Regions from separate parts of the Homo sapiens genome. Here region 2 is linked to region 1. The links are contacts of gene promoters, found by promoter capture Hi-C in blood cells and fetal thymus (Javierre and others, 2016). All regions are on one chromosome and are shown on one strand. Each heading gives the region's core, a stretch centred on a gene start or on the middle of the fragment in contact. The rest is flanking DNA. Distances are from core to core; before and after follow the strand shown.

The links. Contacts are between HindIII fragments. The CHiCAGO score rates a contact against its expected background, and 5 or more counts as called.
Region 2: a fragment that was not itself captured here is called in contact with the fragment with the promoter of ACRBP in region 1 in 16 of 17 cell types (naive CD4 T cells, activated CD4 T cells, naive CD8 T cells and 13 more); the score reaches 20.8 in naive CD4 T cells.

What each region holds. Positions count from the first base shown.
Region 1 is chr12:6,643,850-6,650,478 of GRCh38, reverse strand. ACRBP (acrosin binding protein) reads left to right here and starts at 3,047. Exons shown (of 10, transcript NM_032489.3): 1 at 3,047-3,155; 2 at 3,467-3,685; 3 at 3,902-3,996; 4 at 5,142-5,259; 5 at 5,874-6,342. The coding sequence starts at 3,113. ING4 (inhibitor of growth family member 4) reads left to right here. Exons shown (of 8, transcript NM_016162.4): 8 at 1-178. RefSeq lists enhancers at 3,120-3,189, 3,113-3,626. The HindIII fragment of the contact is 16,958 bases long and covers 1-5,204 here.
Region 2 is chr12:6,690,618-6,696,700 of GRCh38, reverse strand. PIANP (PILR alpha associated neural protein) reads left to right here. Exons shown (of 5, transcript NM_001244014.2): 4 at 177-258; 5 at 1,050-2,910. The coding sequence ends at 1,275. Among named protein-coding and RNA genes, the nearest start is that of ZNF384, 4.3 kb to the right of the region's middle. The HindIII fragment of the contact is 900 bases long and covers 4,227-5,126 here.

The DNA.
Region 1 (6,629 bases), core at 1,798-4,297:
ACATGAAACCAGAGTGGTGCCTCTGTCCGAGAACTTGTAAGTTCTCAACTTGGGAAAGACAGAGGTGCTGGAGGGTAGGCCTCAGACCAGGGGGTCTCCAAAACTTTGTAAATCATGCATCTTTTCTCCATAAAACATCTTTCACTTAATTTCCAATAAATGATGTATTTGTGCTATACATACGTACTGCTATACTATACATTAGCTTGACTTCTTTTTTTTTTTCCTTTGAGGCGAAGTCTCACTCTGTTGCCAGGCTGGAGTGCAGTGGCGTGATCTTGGCTCACTGCAGTCTCCGCCTCCGGGTTCAAGTGATTCTCCTGCCTCAGTCTTACAAGTAGCTGGGACTACAGGCACATGCTACCACGCCCAGCTAATTTTGTATTTTTAGTAGAGACAGGGTTTCACCGTGTTGGCCAGGATGGTCTCCATCTCTTGACCTCATGATCTGCCTGCCTTGGCCTCCCAAAGTGCTGGGATTACAGGCGTGAGCCACAGCACCCAAGCTGATTTCTTTTTTTCATTTTTTAAAATTTTTTTTAAAGTAGGCCAGGCCCGGTAGCTCACGCCTGTAATCCCAACACTTTGGGAGGCCAAGGGAGGTGGATCACCTGAGGTCAGGAGTTCAAGACTAGCCTGGCCAACATGGCGAAACCCGGTCTCGGCCAAAAATACAAAAATTAGCTGGGCGTGGTCATGGGTGCCTGTAATCCCAGCTACTCGAGAGGGTGAGGCAGGAGAATCGCTTGAACCTGGGAGGCAGAGGTTGCAGTGAGCTGAGATTGTACCACTGCACTCCAGCCTGGGCGATAGAGTGAGACTCCGTCTCAAAAAAATAAATAGGCTGGGTGCGGTGGCTCACACCTGTAATCCCAGCACTCTGGGAGGTTGAGGTGGGTGGATCACCTGAGGTCCGGAGTTCGAGGCCAGTCTGGCCAACATGTTAAAACCCCATCTCTACTAAAAATACAAAAATTAGCCAGATGTGGTGGCATGTGCCTATAATCCTAGCTACTTGGGAGGTTGAGGCAGGAGAATCACTTGAACCCAGGAGGCAGAGATTGCACTGTGCTGAGACCAGCCATAATTTTTGTATTTTTAGTAGAGACTGGGTTTCACCCTTTTTTTTTTTTTGAGATGGAGTCTCACTCTGTCATGCAGGCTGGAGTGCAGTGGCGTGATTTCGGCTCACTGCAACCTCCATCTCCCGAGTTCAAGCAATTCTCCTGCCTCAGCCTCCCGAGTAGCTGGGACTACAGGCACATGCCACCACGCCTGGCTAATTTTTTGTATTTTTAGTAGAGACAGGGTTTCACCGTGTTAGCTAGGATGGTCTTGATCTCCTGACCTCGTGATCTGCCTGCCTTGGTCTCCCAAAGTGCTAGGATTACAGGCATGAGCCATCGCACCGGCCAAGTTTCACCATTTTGGCCAGGCTGGTCTCAAACTCCTGGCCTCAAGAGATCCACCCTCCTTGGCCTCCCAAAGTGCTGGAATTCCAGGAATGAGCCACAGTGCCTGGTCTCTATTTTATTAATTTATTTTATTTTATTTTATTTTTGAGACAGGGTCTCACTTTGTCACCCAGGCTGGAGCACAGTGGTGAGATCTCAGCTCACTGCAGCCTTGACCTCTGAAGACTCAGGTGATCCTCCTACCTCAGCCTCCCCAAGTAGTAAGTGGGACAACAGGCGCACACCACCACACCTGACAATTTTTGTATTTTTTGTAGAGACAGGGTTTCGCCATGTTGCCCAGGCTGGTCTGGAACTCCTGGGCTCAAGGAATCCACCCGCCTTGACTTCCCAAATGCTGGGATTACAGGCGTGAGCCACCAAGTCTGGCCCAAGACAATTTCTTGTTTTATTTTTCTTTTTTACTTTTGCTTTTGGGTGGGGACAGGGTCTCACTTTGTCACCCAGGCTGGAGAGCAGTGGCCCGATTGCACCTCACTGCAGCCTTGGCCTCATGGGCTCAAGCGATCCTCCCATCTCAGCCCCCCAAGAAACTGGGACTACAGGCACGTGCCACCACGCTTGGCTAATTTTTTGTACTTTTTGTAGAGACGAGGTTTCGCCCTGTTGCCCAGGCTGGAATTTCTCATTTTAAACACAAAACAGATACAAAAGCAAAAGTTCTCCTCCCATACCTCAGTGGACTGTCTTACTCGATTCTCCCTTGGAAACCACTTTCGTAGACCACTGAGCCACCCTCTTGTTTTCCCCTTGGACCCATTTTGCTCATGGAGGCGCCCTGTCTAGTTCCTACCCAGATAGGCCTTGACTTGGTTTTGCACATTCTATCTCTGCCTGCGCTTAGCTCTAGACCTCACGACCTGTTTGTTGGGCGAGTTGCTTCCCTAAGCCCCGATTTCTCATCTGTAAAACGAATGATAGTGTATCTACCTTATGGGATTCCTATGGCAATTACGTAAGGTAGTGCATGTAAAGATGCTAAGTGGCTGGCTACGGTGGCTCACACCTGTAATCCCAGCACTTTGGGAGGCCGAGGTGGGCAGATCATTTGAAGTCAGGAGTTCAAGACCAGCCTGGCCAACATGGTGAAACCCAGTCTCTACTAAAAATACAAAAATTAGGCCGGGCATGGTGGCTCACGCCTGTAATCCCAGCACTTTGGGAGGCCGAGGTGGGCGGATCACAAGGTCAAGAGATCGAGACCATCTGGCCAGCATGGTGAAATACCATCTCTACTAAAAATACAAAAATTAGCTGGGCGTGGTGGCGTGCACCTATAGTCCCAGCTACTCGGGAGGCTGAGGCAGGAGAATCACTTGAACCTGGGACGCCGAGGTTGTAGTGAGCCGAGATCGCACCACTGCACTCCAGCCTGGGCGACAGAGTAGGACTCCGTCTCAAAAAAAAAAGAAAAAGACGCTAAGTGAAGGTAGCTGTTTGCCATTCCTACCATCTGGATGGGCTCTGGCCACTTTAGGGCCCTGAGAGCCCGGCTGTCGAGGCCCCGCCCCGGCCCGCTCTTTGTGACGCGTGGGCGGTGCCCGCGTGCGCCCCGCCCCGCGCCTGCGGCTCTCTCTGCGGCTTGGCCCGTTAGAGGCGGCTTGTGTCCACGGGACGCGGGCGGATCTTCTCCGGCCATGAGGAAGCCAGCCGCTGGCTTCCTTCCCTCACTCCTGAAGGGTGAGAGGTTTACACCTGCTCCAACAGACTCTCCCCGGGCTAGTCCTCTCCCTCCCGAGAGCTCTGCTTTTACGGTTTCTGGATCGCTTCCTCATGGTGGTCGCGCTGGGTCGGCTCCCTAGGTCCTGGGATACTCCCATCTCCCCCCGCCCGCGGCCGGACCTTTGCCTCTGTCTCTAGACTCCCCCCGCCCTGGTCAGCAGGGATAACCCTCACCCCGTTCCTAATTTGCCAGTCTGGGTCTGTCTGTCCTGGTCTCGGAGCGGGTTTTGGGGTTCGGTCCTTCCATCATCCGTTCGCCCGCTCCGCAGTGCTGCTCCTGCCTCTGGCACCTGCCGCAGCCCAGGATTCGACTCAGGCCTCCACTCCAGGCAGCCCTCTCTCTCCTACCGAATACGAACGCTTCTTCGCACTGCTGACTCCAACCTGGAAGGCAGAGACTACCTGCCGTCTCCGTGCAACCCACGGCTGCCGGAATCCCACACTCGTCCAGCTGGACCAATATGAAAACCACGGCTTAGTGCCCGATGGTGAGGGCCAGACTAGGGGGGAAACCGAGGCACCCAGAGTGTTCACCCAAACCTCAGGGCAAAAACCCCTGTGCTCATGTGAGGCGGGGAAGGGCATGGCTGGCACCACACCATGAGCTCGTACTCTCCACCCTCCCCATGGCGTGGAGTCCATTGCCCACAGCCCCACCCCAAGCTCCCCACGGGTTCATCTTCTCCACCCCTGCCCTTTCTCAGGTGCTGTCTGCTCCAACCTCCCTTATGCCTCCTGGTTTGAGTCTTTCTGCCAGTTCACTCACTACCGTTGCTCCAACCACGTCTACTATGCCAAGGTGAGGCCCAGGACAAAGGTTGGATTTGGTGCCCCAGGGCCAAGGGAGAGGCGGCAGCAGTGGGGAGTTGAGGAAGGGTTCCAGGAGAGTCATCCTTAGCTCCTCCTTCCCTGCCATTTTGCCAGTCATTTACCCAGATTATATATGAATACAGTCTCACCTTGGATATTCAGATTGAACAATTCTGTTACTGCAAGAAAAGTAGAGAAGAGACTGGGCATGGTGGCTCATGCCTGTAATCTCAGCACTTTGGGAGCCCGAGATGGGCAGATCACCTGAAGTCAGGAGTTCGAGACCAGCCTGGCCAACATGGTGAAACCCCGTTTCTACTAAAAATACAAAAAAAAAAAAAAAAAATAGCCGGGCTTGGTGATGGGCGCCTGTAATCCCAGCTACTCGGGAGGCTGAGGCAGGAGAATTGCTTGAACCCGGGAGGCAAAGGTTGCAGTAAGCCGAGATCATGCCACTGCACCCTATCCTGAGTGGCAGAGCAAGACTGTGTCTCAAAAAAAAACAACAACAGGGACGAGTGCGGTGGCTCACGCCTGTAATCCCAGCACTTTGGGAGGCCGAGGCAGGCAGATCATGAGGTCAGGAGATCGAGACCATCCTGGCTAACACGGTGAAACTCTGTCTCTACTAAAAATACAAAAAATTAGCTGGGCGTGGTGGCAGGCGCCTGTAGTCCCAGCTACTCGAGAGACTGAGGCAGGAGAATGGCGTGAACCCGGGAGGTGGGGCTTGCAGTGAGCCGAGATCGCGCCACTGCACTCCAGCCTGGGTGACAGAGTGAGACTCCGTCTCAAAAAAAAAAAACAAAAAAAACAAACCCAAAACCCAAACAAAAAGAAGTAGGGAAGAGGGATGGGAAGAGGCAAAGAGATAAGCCCTTACGTTTCTTCGAACAGGTCAGTGATTTTGAGTCAAATGCAAAAGTGACGGCAGGGATGTGGCCCAGACAAACAGAGATTCATCTTCTGAAGGGACCCTTTCTCAGGTCTAGAGGGTTCCAGCAGGGACCATGTCCCTTTATCCCTGCCTAGAAACTGAGAGATAAGACATGCTGGAAAAGGGGTTGAAGAACCAGCTGGAGCAGAAGTCTGCCCTTTAGGAAAGGCTTTCCCATTTTCCTTCTCTTCCTGCAGAGAGTCCTGTGTTCCCAGCCAGTCTCTATTCTCTCACCTAACACTCTCAAGGAGATAGAAGCTTCAGCTGAAGTCTCACCCACCACGATGACCTCCCCCATCTCACCCCACTTCACAGGTGAGACCCTCTCAGCAGCCGGGAGACCACCAGCTACTCCCACAACTCCCAGAGCCCACAACGTAAGGCATCCATGGCAGGGAAATGGGAAGCATGTTGGGCGGGAAGGGGGCGCCAGCAGACAGCTGTTTACACAAAGGAGTGTCAGCTTTTTATGAATACAAGTTAGGGCTCTCCTGGACCAGAATCTCTTCTGCCATTACTTACAATTTTGCCCTGAATCCATTTTTCCCAATTCCAGAGACATTGTTGCATTACAAAGGACCTCTAGGCCCTTTATAAGCTAATGTCTTCACTTTAGAAAGGATTGACTGCTAGCTACTCAGCATACTTGGTGTTTCCTAAGGGAGAGGGACAAATGGTGGTATTTGAGGTGGAAGTTAGGGAAGGAGGAGTGCTTGCCAGGGAGGTGGGAAGGTGATGCATACCACCAGCCTTACAGTTGCCGTGGTAATGTTCTTTTAGTTTAATACTTATGTTCTTTTCTGTGTTTTTCTGTGTGTATAAGTGTGACTTGGTCTGCTTTGTTTATGTGTGTGTCCCTCTGTGAACAAAGACACTCAGGGGCTAGAAGCCTGACTGTCTCTCTCCCTTCTCTCTAAACCCTGCTGTAGTGACAGAACGCCAGACCTTCCAGCCCTGGCCTGAGAGGCTCAGCAACAACGTGGAAGAGCTCCTACAATCCTCCTTGTCCCTGGGAGGCCAGGAGCAAGCGCCAGAGCACAAGCAGGAGCAAGGAGTGGAGCACAGGCAGGAGCCGACACAAGAACACAAGCAGGAAGAGGGGCAGAAACAGGAAGAGCAAGAAGAGGAACAGGAAGAGGAGGGAAAGCAGGAAGAAGGACAGGGGACTAAGGAGGGACGGGAGGCTGTGTCTCAGCTGCAGACAGACTCAGAGCCCAAGTTTCACTCTGAATCTCTATCTTCTAACCCTTCCTCTTTTGCTCCCCGGGTACGAGAAGTAGAGTCTACTCCTATGATAATGGAGAACATCCAGGAGCTCATTCGATCAGCCCAGGAAATAGATGAAATGAATGAAATATATGATGAGAACTCCTACTGGAGAAACCAAAACCCTGGCAGGTATAGGAAGTTTTGACTCTGTCATCCACCCTGCCCTCCCTTCTGCCTTTCTTGGGAGTGAGAAGCCCATTTTCCTAGCTTCAGCCTCCAGATCCACTCAGACCTGTCTGGACTTCAGGCACAGCTAGCAACTGCCTCACCAATTCTGTGCCCATTGTTGGCTTAAGCACTGCTCAAATGCTTATTCTCTATGTAAGCCCTGTACCTGGAGCTACCAGACTTGGGTTCTGGTCTTGTCTCTGCCCTGTTTAGCATTGCAATCCTGAGAAAGTAATTTCTCCTTTCGG
Region 2 (6,083 bases), core at 3,427-5,926, 45 kb before region 1:
CTCAGGGGAATGCTGGTGATAATAAAGAGTGAGGCTCCAGAGGGGCAGACAGAGCCGGCAGTGTGGATCCACACAGCAATGCCACTCCAGCCGACAGAGCCCACAGCCCAGCCCCCAGCCCCTCTTGGCTCCTACCACCTCGGGGCTCCCTAAAACTTTCTTCCCACCCCAATCAGGTGTGGACCCCCAGCTCTATGTCACAATTACCATCTCCATCATCATTGTTCTCGTGGCCACTGGCATCATCTTCAAGTTCTGGTAAGCTGGGAGGAGGAAGGTGCTGGTGGATGGGGACGGAATGTTTGGCAGTCGAGGCTCTAACCACGAGGGGCAGTGGCAGCAATTTTGCTGGGGGGTGGGTGGGAAATGCTGGATGAAGGCAAGACCTTGGGAAAAGATAATTAAGGATTTGGCTGGGGGAAGACGGTGAGAAATCAGGGCAGATTCTGTCTCCCAGGGAAATACAAGGATAAGGGAGGGCAGGGGAATTATTCCTGTGCATTCCTGGTGAGCCTCCCCTGCCCCTACTTCCTCCAAGACAGAGAAAGCTGACCCAGTCTGCAGAGCCCTTCTTAGGGTTGCCTGGGGGGAGCAAGAAAACCTGGAGCTTTCTTTGCACACATTTAATAATGGATCACTCAGTCCTTCACACTTTACTGAGAGAATCATTAGACTCAGGTGTCCAAGTCATCAGCTTGCTTTGAACTAGAACTAAACCTGCCAGTTGTCTGCTGAAGACAGAAATGACTCTTCTGGGCATGTAGGGGAGAGGACATTGTGGTGGTGGGGAGGGGATATTAATTTTGTCGATCTGGATCAGGTTTGGAGGGTAAGGAGGTTTAGATTACCAAGCTCCCCTAGAGGGCAGGGGAAGTGGCTTTATGGGCACAGAGTCCCAGGGGATTTAGTAGAGAGAACTGTTAAAGGCCAGTTTCTCTGCTATAAGATGTTGGGAGTGACTGGGCGAGGCTGGGGGTGACCACTGGTGCAGGCCCAGGATGGGGGCTACTTGAGTGTGCAAGAGAACCTCTTTTCCTCTGGTACCCCAGCTGGGACCGCAGCCAGAAGCGACGCAGACCCTCAGGGCAGCAAGGTGCCCTGAGGCAGGAGGAGAGCCAGCAGCCACTGACAGACCTGTCCCCGGCTGGAGTCACTGTGCTGGGGGCCTTCGGGGACTCACCTACCCCCACCCCTGACCATGAGGAGCCCCGAGGGGGACCCCGGCCTGGGATGCCCCACCCCAAGGGGGCTCCAGCCTTCCAGTTGAACCGGTGAGGGCAGGGGCAATGGGATGGGAGGGCAAAGAGGGAAGGCAACTTAGGTCTTCAGAGCTGGGGTGGGGGTGCCCTCTGGATGGGTAGTGAGGAGGCAGGCGTGGCCTCCCACAGCCCCTGGCCCTCCCAAGGGGGCTGGACCAGCTCCTCTCTGGGAGGCACCCTTCCTTCTCCCAGTCTCTCAGGATCTGTGTCCTATTCTCTGCTGCCCATAACTCCAACTCTGCCCTCTTTGGTTTTTTCTCATGCCACCTTGTCTAAGACAACTCTGCCCTCTTAACCTTGATTCCCCCTCTTTGTCTTGAACTTCCCCTTCTATTCTGGCCTACCCCTTGGTTCCTGACTGTGCCCTTTCCCTCTTCCTCTCAGGATTCCCCTGGTGAATCTGTGATGCCCCCAATGTTGGGGTGCAGCCAAGCAGGAGGCCAAGGGGCCGGCACAGCCCCCATCCCACTGAGGGTGGGGCAGCTGTGGGGAGCTGGGGCCACAGGGGCTCCTGGCTCCTGCCCCTTGCACACCACCCGGAACACTCCCCAGCCCCACGGGCAATCCTATCTGCTCGCCCTCCTGCAGGTGGGGGCCTCACATATCTGTGACTTCGGGTCCCTGTCCCCACCCTTGTGCACTCACATGAAAGCCTTGCACACTCACCTCCACCTTCACAGGCCATTTGCACACGCTCCTGCACCCTCTCCCCGTCCATACCGCTCCGCTCAGCTGACTCTCATGTTCTCTCGTCTCACATTTGCACTCTCTCCTTCCCACATTCTGTGCTCAGCTCACTCAGTGGTCAGCGTTTCCTGCACACTTTACCTCTCATGTGCGTTTCCCGGCCTGATGTTGTGGTGGTGTGCGGCGTGCTCACTCTCTCCCTCATGAACACCCACCCACCTCGTTTCCGCAGCCCCTGCGTGCTGCTCCAGAGGTGGGTGGGAGGTGAGCTGGGGGCTCCTTGGGCCCTCATCGGTCATGGTCTCGTCCCATTCCACACCATTTGTTTCTCTGTCTCCCCATCCTACTCCAAGGATGCCGGCATCACCCTGAGGGCTCCCCCTTGGGAATGGGGTAGTGAGGCCCCAGACTTCACCCCCAGCCCACTGCTAAAATCTGTTTTCTGACAGATGGGTTTTGGGGAGTCGCCTGCTGCACTACATGAGAAAGGGACTCCCATTTGCCCTTCCCTTTCTCCTACAGTCCCTTTTGTCTTGTCTGTCCTGGCTGTCTGTGTGTGTGCCATTCTCTGGACTTCAGAGCCCCCTGAGCCAGTCCTCCCTTCCCAGCCTCCCTTTGGGCCTCCCTAACTCCACCTAGGCTGCCAGGGACCGGAGTCAGCTGGTTCAAGGCCATCGGGAGCTCTGCCTCCAAGTCTACCCTTCCCTTCCCGGACTCCCTCCTGTCCCCTCCTTTCCTCCCTCCTTCCTTCCACTCTCCTTCCTTTTGCTTCCCTGCCCTTTCCCCCTCCTCAGGTTCTTCCCTCCTTCTCACTGGTTTTTCCACCTTCCTCCTTCCCTTCTTCCCTGGCTCCTAGGCTGTGATATATATTTTTGTATTATCTCTTTCTTCTTCTTGTGGTGATCATCTTGAATTACTGTGGGATGTAAGTTTCAAAATTTTCAAATAAAGCCTTTGCAAGATACTCGAGTCCCCTGGTTCTGCCTTCTGACCCCCGTAGAGAGGAGGAGAGGGGTGGGCAGCTAGGAGGAGGCACAGGATGAGGTGGGGACCCCCTCTAGACCTAAGTCACCTGCCCTCCTCTGACCTGGAGCTGGGGGCCAACTGGGGCTTTAACTTGGGACAAAATGGAAGGGAGCCATCCTGACGAGGAGCAGTGGTACAAGAGAGAAACTAGAATAGAAATCGTGGCTCACTTATTCCTTGCCAGGGAGGGTCAAGAGAGACCAAAAAAAGGGAGACAGAAGAAAAGGAAAGTTACATGGAAGGATAGGAGGTGGATCAAGGCGGAAGAGAGACCTGATAAGACAGACGGAGGGAGAAGGGGGAAAGGAGAAGAGAAAAATGGAGCAATGGAGAAAAGATGAGAGGGAGCCAGCCATCCGAAAGAAGCTGCCCTGCTTGGTTTATTTTCAGCTTTGCTCCCTAACCTGCCCCCACCCACAGCTGCCCCCCAAAAGCTGTGCAGAATCAGAAGCCCTGTGGTTAACTCGTTAGCTTTCCCTACTCTGCCCTCTCAGAGAGAGGCACTGCAGGGGTGTGGGGGTGGGATCAAGGGGTGTTTTTGGGGAGGGAATGCAGGCTGCCCAGCTGGGATCAGTCACCTCTCAGTCCCCAATTTCTAGGTTTGGCTCTTGTAACAGCCCTGTGAAAACCCACACATCAGCCTCTCAGCTGTTGCTAGGCTCTATTGCTATGGTAACCACCCAGGTCCCATCTATCCCCCCTCCCCCAATCTGTGCCCCACTTGCTCCCTGGAAATGCGGTGGCCCCAGGGAGGATAGGGATGATGTAGTGTACAAAAGGGTGGCCTGGGCTGCTCTGGACTGGATATGCCCCCATGCATTTATCTTTCAAGCTAGGTTAGGAATGTCTGTGTGTTGGTAGGTGTGTGCTTTAGGTGTTGGGAGCTTTACTGTGAGCTGAGGGAAGTGTGGCTGAGCCTGTGCAGCACATAATGCTGAGTGCCAGGAAGAGGCAGTGTATTTCTCAGGATTAGAGCAGTGTGTGCATTCAGGGCGTCACACTCCCTAAGAAAAGGACTGCTACAAGGGAAAGAAGCAGAGCTGGGCCAAGGATTGATGAACCAACTCAAAGCAGAGGTGCCCGGCAAACAAGCTTCTGAGGAGTCAACTCACTGGGGGCATGAAGATATCCCAGCAGGTGGCTGATGGGAGAGCGGGCTGGATAAAACCTGAGGGTACAGGATGAGGCATGGATGGTATACACTGTGGGCCGTGAGGGAGGGATCCAGATCCAAGGAGGGTGGGATAGGAAGCTTCATTAACCTTTCCTTCTTTCCCCACAGGAATCTAGTCCTTGTCAGGTGAGGGTGGGGAGAAAAGAGAAGCATTGGCACAGAAGGGGAAGGAGCTCAAGTGCCGGAGAGCACACTGGGCTCTCACCTTCAGCAAGGATCTCTCTTCAAAGGGACAGTGTGACCCGTGGCTCATCCATATGCAAAAGGCAAACATGAAGGCCCCTAATGAAGAGGGAATTAATTACTGCCTGATTAGACCACTGTTTCTCTAAATTTAAATAAATTAAAATACACCAGCAAGGTACTGGAAATCCTCACCTGTTCCCTCTTCCTAAATGTCCTCCTTTCCCCATGGAAAGTCAGAAGGCAGGAAAGACAGAGGAGGAAGGAGACTGTTCCAGACTCTGAACTGTACTAAAAAAATTCTCCCAAATGATACTGCACTGTCACGTTAGCCATGAAGAGTCGTAAGGCCCTGGGGAGCAAGCCCTAACTTTTCTCTCCTGTAGTTGAAACAGAGACTGTGGGGCTTTGAGAGGTCCTCAGAAAGCTGCAGCAGAGTCACTAGCCAAGAAAAAAACAATGGCCATGCTGTCCTTTTGGGAACTGGAAGGTTCTTCGAGGTCACACATCACAGCCACCACTGGAACCAGCGTCTCATCACCATCCTTTCTTTGCCTCCTGAGCTGTGCATCAAATGACTCAGCCAGGCTTCTCTTAGCATTTTTCTGGAATGCTTGCCACTGCGGCTTAGACCAAACCAGGGAATGGGGAAGCCCCCAGGAGGAGGGAGGGATCTCCCAGGCACAGCTTAGGGTGTGGAAGTGATTCAAGATGGAAACAGTATGCCAGCTGGAGAACCCCAGGCTAAAATTAACAGCCCTCCTCCCCCTACGCCCCACATTTATTGTTCTAAAGCTTTTCCCTAAGGAGTTCAAAGCACTTGAAACTTCTTTTTTTTTTTTTTGAGATGGAGTTTAGTTCTTGTTGCCCAGGCTGGAGTGCAATGGCGCAATCTTGGCTCACCACAACCTTCGCCTCCCAGGTTCAAGTGATTCTCCTGCCTCAACCTCCCAAGTAGCTGGGAAACTTCCTTCTTATAGCAAGGGCAGGAATAGGGCTGACGGAGACACGGAGACCCAGGAAGTGCCCAGTTAACATAAATAGGAAAAGAGCAGGAGGAGAACCAGAACGTATAGCTATTATTACTATTTCCTGTTCCCACCTTTCAATACCAGCCCCTGATGTCAAGGTTTCTTGAATCAGCAATCTCTAACCCACACAGCAATAGGTCTGGTCACATCTGAGCCCTTAAAATCCTTACTCTGCCAACTGTTGCTACTCAGTCAACAGAGACTGAGTGCTGAGCCCAAAAATGTGATAAAGGGAACAGACACTTTAAAAAAGATACAAACTACAATTACAATGAAATGCATCATCTATTTAAATATTTAAAGGCGTACTTTGTTACTTTCTTGCTTTGACCTTGGGGGAAAAAATCACTTAATCCTTTACAGGCTTATTTTCATTATCTGTAAAATGAGCATTATAATTATTTCTGTTAAAGTTATTTTTTGCTGGGCGTGGTGGCTCACGCCTGTAATCCCAGCACTTTGGGAGGCTGAGACAGGTGGATCAGTTGAGGTCAGGAGTTCGAGACCAGCCTGGCCAACATGGTGAAACCCCGACTCCACTAAAGATACAAAAAATTAGCCCGGTGTGGTGGCGGGCGACTGTCATCCCAGCTGCTAGGGAGGCTGAGGCAGGAGAATCGCTTGAACCCAGGAGGCAGAGGTTGCAGTGAGCCAAGATGGCGCCAATGCACTCCAGCCTGGGCAACAGGGTGACACTCTGTCTTTAAAAAAAAAAAAAAAAGG